2 separate regions of the Homo sapiens genome follow, and region 2 is linked to region 1. The links are contacts of gene promoters, found by promoter capture Hi-C in blood cells and fetal thymus (Javierre and others, 2016). All regions are on one chromosome and are shown on one strand. Each heading gives the region's core, a stretch centred on a gene start or on the middle of the fragment in contact. The rest is flanking DNA. Distances are from core to core; before and after follow the strand shown.

Region 1 (3,173 bases), core at 69-2,568:
AGGGACAGCAGGGCCGCAAGGCTCTGTGACTCTAGGCCCCATCACACCCGGCCCTGTCCCACTTCCTCTTTCGGCCAGAACCCCAGAACTCCAGTCATTCATAGGCCGGGTCCTCCTCGGGGGAACCAGGCCTGCCCCCTAGGAATCAGGGTATCCACGCCTCCTCGGCCCGCTCTCGGAGCCTGGGCCTCAACACCTGCAGATTGGCTCCCGGGCCAGGACCTGTCGCTTGAACATCAGTGGCCGCCGCCGTCCAATCACAGACGTACAGGGGCGGGCTGGCGGGCCTGTTGGGCCAGCAGGAGGACGGCGCCGGGCCGAGGCCGCTGGACCCGCCGTTGGAACCACAGCTGGGTGAAGTCAGTGCTGCTAGGTCTTTGGAGCCAGACCGAAGGGAGGGTCGCGCGCCCCTGGGTGGGTAGCACCAGGCGGCGGCCGTCGGCCGGGCCTCCCGAAGCCTCCTCCAGCCGCTAATACCGCCCGCGCCTCCCTCCTAGTCCTAGACCTGGCATTGCCTGTCCCTCTTCTTCGTCTTCCAGACCCTCCTGACCCGCCATATTAGGTCCCGGCCCCGCCCTCCGTCTCATTGCCCATTGCCCACCCCACCCCACCGCCCCCTCCCCGGCCTACCGTCAGCTCATTGGCCCAGGCTCCCGCCTTCTTCGCCCAATGTTAGGCCTCACCTCCTCTAGGATCCACCCTCTCCCCGCCCACCCGCATAAGCCAGGCCCACCATTCCAACTCTTTCTCCTTTTTGGCTTGTAGGCCGCACCTACTCTGCATATGCCCCGCCCCTCACTCCAGGTGTCGCCCACTTAACTGAAGATCCAGGATCCCCTCCTTAAGGTTTGTCTGGGCTCGGAATTGCCTTTTTTTTTTTTCTTTTTTGAGACGGAGTTTCCCTGTTGTGACCCAGGCTGGAGTACAGTGGCGCGATCTCAGCTCACTGCAACCTCCACGTCCCGGGTTCAAGCGATTCTCCTGCCTCAGCCTCCCAAGTAGCTGGGACTACAGGCGCCCGCCACCACGCCCAGCTAATTTTTGTATTTTTAGTAGAGACGGGGTTTCACCACGTTGCCCAGGCTGGTCTCGAGCTCTTGATCTCAGGTGATCCGCCCGCCTCGGCCTACCAAAGTGCTGGGATTACAGGCGTGAGCCACCGCACCCGGCCCGGAATTGCCGCCTTTAGACCCTCACCCACCCGCTGCTGAGTCTTCCTGGGCCCCGCCCCGGCCCTAAGCCCCGCACAGGACCTGCTAGGCCCCGCCCATTTATTTCCCCCCTTTCCAACCTCTTCCTCCCCAGCCTCCGCACCCTACCCTTGTTTCCTGTCCCTGTCGCGCCCAGGTGTTTACCTGGCACTCAGGTGAGTGGTGCGCTCTGGCTGTTTTCTGTCGGAGCCGCCCGCCTCTTCCTTCAGCGCGTCCCACAAATCCCGACGGCACGGAGGGGCCCCAGGCCAAGGGCGATGGGCCCCTGAGCCCTGACACCGCTTCGCCGCTGCTGCAGGTGCCCCTGGCCGGCAGCGCCGCCGTGGTCCCGGAGCGCGGCGACATGCCGGAGCTGGTGGTGACCGCGCTGCTGGCGCCGTCGCGCCTGTCGCTGAAGCTGCTGCGCGCCTTCATGTGGAGCCTGGTGTTCTCGGTGGCGCTGGTGGCCGCGGCGGTCTACGGCTGCATAGCGCTCACGCACGTGCTGTGCCGGCCCCGGCGCGGCTGCTGCGGGCGCCGTCGGAGCGCGTCCCCCGCCTGCCTGAGCGACCCCTCGCTGGGTGAGCACGGTTTCCTGAACCTCAAGGTGATCGCACGGGGGCGCTATCGGGGCTGCGGGGTCGCGTGGGGTCGAGACGGTTCAAGCCTCGGGAGAGAGGGTTCCCCAGGCTTCAGGCTGTGCCCTCCCCCTAGAGCTCGGGCCTGCGTCTGCACTATGTCTCGGCTGGACGAGGTAACGGACCCCTCATGCTGTTTCTGCACGGCTTCCCTGAGAACTGGTACGTCTGGGGCCAGGGGCCTGAGGCCCACGGGACTCGGGGGCAGGTGGAGCTTGGGCTCCCAAGAGGCAGGGAGGAGGGCTGTATAGATCGGGACAAGCTGAACATAGATGGGGATAGGGGTACTGAGCCAGCATACCCAGGATCCCTAGGCCCTGAAGGGACAGGACAAAGGGGTATTGAGGTTGATTGAAGTTCCCTGGATTCAGGGTGTAGCTGGCTTCAGCCTCAGCCTCTGCCTCTGCCTGGGATTCCCCATCCTCCTTTTAGGGGAAGTTTAGAGCAGGAAGGAGGGTTTGCCAATGGTTGCTGATGTGCGTAGGGTGCAGGTGCAACCTGAGGGCCCTGACTCAGCCTCCCTCCCTCGCCCGCCTGGCAGGTTCTCCTGGCGTTACCAGCTCCGGGAGTTCCAGAGCCGCTTCCATGTTGTGGCTGTGGACTTGCGAGGCTATGGCCCCTCGGATGCACCTCGGGATGTGGACTGCTACACAATCGACCTGCTGCTGGTGGACATCAAAGATGTCATCCTAGGCCTGGGTGCAGACATACCCCCATCCTAGGCGTGGCCTCCCTCATCCTGCACACACGCATACCCCCGCTTTCTCCTTGCTGGAACCTACTTCCCCCATCCCTGCTTCAGTCCTACTGGGCACCTCACTTATGCGAGCTCCTTGAATTCCCACAGGTTACTCGAAGTGCATCCTTGTGGCCCATGACTGGGGTGCCCTCCTTGCCTGGCATTTCTCCATCTACTACCCATCCCTGGTCGAGCGGATGGTTGTGGTCAGTGGTGCCCCCATGTCGGTGTACCAAGGTGTGTGTGGGAGTCCGGGACACTGGGATGTACTTATGTGCAAGGGGGCAGGGACATGTGTCTGTGTTTTCAATTCTCTGTATACCTGTCAACACATCAGGGGCTGAGGGTGCAGCAATCAACCCAGGTCCCTTCGGTTGTGGAACTCCTCATTCGGAAATTAATGACACGCCAGACCCAGTGGCTCACACCTGTAATCCCAGCCCTCCGGGAGGCTGAGGTGGGAGGATCACTTGAGGCCAGGAGTTCAAGACCAGTCTGGTCAACATAGCAAGACCCCAACTGTCTCTACAAAAAAAAAAAAAAAATGTAATTAGCCAGGCATTGGTGGTGCATGCCTGTAATCCCAGCTACTCGGGAGGCTGATGC
Region 2 (3,341 bases), core at 11-2,510, 170 kb before region 1:
GGTACCTAACAGCAAATCCAGCGTCAGCCCACTGTTGCCGCGGTGCCCGGTTGGGGGTGGGCAGGGCCATGTGAGCAGCCTCCCTGCATCCCACCACCTGGCCCCTCTGAACATGTGCCAGTGTCCCCACAAAGATACCCCCTCTTTGCTTTCCAGCCTCCTCCTGGCCCACTGCACAGAGAGCATGGGTGTCCTGGAGAGTGGAGGGGTCATCGCCTGGCCCCCACTCCTTGGGGCCTAGGCCAAACCCACTCCCTGCACAGCCCAGGATACCCAGCCCTGCTCATGGCCAGAGGCCTTGCTTGGACAGCTATTCTCGATGGACCCTCTGGAGTGGACAGTGGGTGATTCAGCCAGAGGCCGCAGGGCCTGCCCTGTCCTGGCAGAGCCAAATTGGTGACAGTGCCCATCTGCTCCCACAGGGGCCCTAACCACCCAGGATGAAAATGGCCAGACCAAGCGCAAGTTGCAGGCAGGCAAGAAGAGTCAGGACAAGCAGAAAAAGCGGCAGCGAGACCGCATGGTGGAAAGGTAACCAGCTTCCCTCCACCCCTCTGCCTCTGCCTCGCTGTGGGGCTGCCGCCAGGAGAGCAGGGCCATAGCTCTGCCAGCTCGCCGCCCTCTGGCCTCCCTTGGGAGCCGCCACCTGCTCGGCCGTGCATGGACCCTGCTTCCCGCCAGGCCCAGCTCCCAAGGCCTGACTCATCCCCTGCCCCTCTGCGGCCGCCTGGCGACCGCTGGCGTCTGTGGGCCGAGACCTGACACCGCTCGGCACCGTTGCTCAGAAGCTCTGGCGCTAGGTCACTCGGCGCACGAACCCCAAGGTGCACTGGGGGCCTGATGCCCCTGAGGGAGGGGGCCAGCTCATCAGAGACTCAAGGTCCAAGGCGCCTGTGCCGCCCCAGCTAGCTGCCAAGAGGCCACCGCCGTGCCCAGGAGAGATGGCAGCACCTGTGGGCTGTGGCAGCCTCGGGCCTGCCTTCTGCCCTGCCCGCCGGCCCTGTCAGGCCGGGCCTGTCTGCGGCTGAGCCCTTCACGCCCCTTGGTCGGGTCTGTCTGCCCTCAGGGCTCCCGCACTGGCGCTTGCCTCCTCCGCCTCAGACTCTTGCTCTTGCTGGACCTTCCTCAGCCTCGCCGGCGCCCGGCCCCTGGGCTCTCCAGACAAAGCTGACCCCGTGGCCCAGATAAGGACGTCCGGCAGAGGTAGGGACCCGCCCCGAGGTCTCGGTGGCGGCTGGCCTCCTCCGCCCCTTGCCACGGCGGCCTGCTCCGGCCCAGGCCCCAGACCCCGGGCTTCTACTGTGGACACCAGGCCCAGACAGAGCACCTCGCCCAGGTGACTCCAGGCTGCCCTCTGGCAGGCCGAGCGGGCGCCCTCCTTCCAGCTCAGACTGGTCTCTTCTTGGAAGAGGAAGATGAGGCAGCAGGTGCCCAGGCCTGCTGCCTCCCATCCCTCCCGACACCACCCCCAAGCATTCTGAGCAGAGGATGGGCTGGGCCTTTGAGTCCCCCAGATCCCAGAAGGAAGATGCAGCACCTTTTCGGGCCCTGCCTCGGGACTGCGTACTCCACTCTGCACCTCAGGGCCACCTGGCTCACGCCAGGGCATCCTTCCTTCCGGTCCCCACCTGGGCCAAGTGCACACGCTCCTGCCCAGCCTTGGTAGCGAGGCCCTCCAGCAACTTTCCAGCGACTCGTTGCCTGTTGCAGCAGCTGCTGTCTCAGGCTTCAGCCTCCTGCCTGTGGGAAGGAAGAGCTCCTCCCCTGTCCCCTACGTTGCAGTAACTGCAGCCTGCAGACTTTCTGGCCCTTTCTACTCCCGACCCCACTGGTCCCAGCCTGTCCCTCTGCTGGGACCGTACTTCAGAGGCCCGTGAGCAAGGCCTGTTTCAGGGCTTGTGTCTGGGTTGGGTGAGGCGGCAGCACTATCCCCTGGGACACTTGCAGCCTCAGCCCCTCGTTTCCTTCCTGTGGCAGGATCCAGTTTGTGTGTTCTCTGTGCAAATACCGGACCTTCTATGAGGACGAGATGGCCAGCCATCTTGACAGCAAGTTCCACAAGGAACACTTTAAGTACGTAGGCACCAAGCTCCCTAAGCAGACGGCTGACTTTCTGCAGGTGAGCCTTGGAGTAACACAGCCGCTCTTAGTTTCTTGGACCCCTGAGAACATAAGGCGGCCCACATGAACCTTTATATTCCTTGCAGGAGTACGTCACTAACAAGACCAAGAAGACAGAGGAGCTCCGAAAAACCGTGGAGGACCTTGATGGCCTCATCCAGCAAATCTACAGAGACCAGGATCTGACCCAGGGTGAGGAGATTTTCAGCCCACTCCCACCAGGCAAGGCCTCAGCCTGCACTCCTGATTTTCGGTGCAGGGTCAGGACACCCTTCTGTTCCCCCAGGGAAGGTCAGGAGACCAGCCTTGGCTCAGGCCCAGGTGGAAGTGGCAGGGCGAGTTGAGGAGGAGCTGGTGTGGTTTTTTTCTCGAACACCTGGGTCTATCTTAGGCACCTGGGCCCAGTGGTGACTCCCTCCTCCCCACTACAGAAATTGCCATGGAGCATTTTGTGAAGAAGGTGGAGGCAGCCCATTGTGCAGCCTGCGACCTCTTCATTCCCATGCAGTTTGGGATCATCCAGAAGCATCTGAAGACCATGGATCACAACCGGAACCGCAGGGTGAGTGGCCACAGTGCTCTCCCTCTGTCCTGTGGGTAGATTGAGTGAGGCCTCTGGGGAGGTTGTGCAGTTGGAACCTCTGCCAGCCCGTGAGGGACTGCAGTGGAGGCAGGAGGAGGTGGATATGGACATTTCCAGCTCAGTGCAGGCAGCACAGCTACAGAGAGAGGGGTGAGAGATGGGGACTCTGCCTGGGAGAAGGTGATATATTCTGTGGGATATGGGGACCTCCATGTTCATAGGGGCCAGCGCCAGATTAGGTTCAGAAACCAAATGGAGATGATACAGTGCAAGTGTTGCTGGAGGAGGGGGTTGGGCTTGAGGCTCAGGAGAGCTGCACTGAGAGGCCTGGGCTTGTTCCTGTAGGCAGTTAAGTTTCAAGTGTGGGATTAACAGGTTAGAGTTGGTGTTGAACTAGAGACTTCAGGCCTGCACCTGGGTGGGGTGGTGGGGGCCAAGGAGGAGCTCCTGCAGTCTCCAGACAAGAGGAGACCCCACCTTGGGAGTGAAGGGGAGAAGAGCAGTTGAAGGAAGGGAGCCGGGGGCTGGCATGTGGGAGTGATCAGAAGCCTGGGGTGACTCTGGTTTCTGACTTGGGGAACTGGGAGGACAGCGGTGCTGCCAAGATTGTCAGGGAGCAGGGAGCAGTAGGGAAGTG

The links. The method cuts DNA at HindIII sites, captures the fragments that hold promoters and counts their contacts. A CHiCAGO score of 5 or more calls a contact.
Region 2: a contact is called between a fragment that was not itself captured here and the fragment with the promoter of EPHX3 in region 1, in 4 of 17 cell types (activated CD4 T cells, total B cells, naive B cells and 1 more). The highest score is 5.9, in activated CD4 T cells.

The regions. Positions count from the first base shown.
Region 1 is chr19:15,230,593-15,233,765 of GRCh38, reverse strand. EPHX3 (epoxide hydrolase 3) reads left to right here and starts at 1,318. Exons shown (of 7, transcript NM_024794.3): 1 at 1,318-1,797; 2 at 1,905-1,990; 3 at 2,370-2,527; 4 at 2,676-2,804. The coding sequence starts at 1,555. RefSeq lists a silencer at 569-728 and an enhancer at 1,067-1,568. The HindIII fragment of the contact is 10,766 bases long and covers 1-3,173 here.
Region 2 is chr19:15,396,492-15,399,832 of GRCh38, reverse strand. AKAP8L (A-kinase anchoring protein 8 like) reads left to right here. Exons shown (of 14, transcript NM_014371.4): 9 at 423-531; 10 at 1,978-2,119; 11 at 2,208-2,313; 12 at 2,553-2,683. Among named protein-coding and RNA genes, the nearest start is that of AKAP8, 18 kb to the right of the region's middle. The HindIII fragment of the contact is 5,088 bases long and covers 1-3,341 here.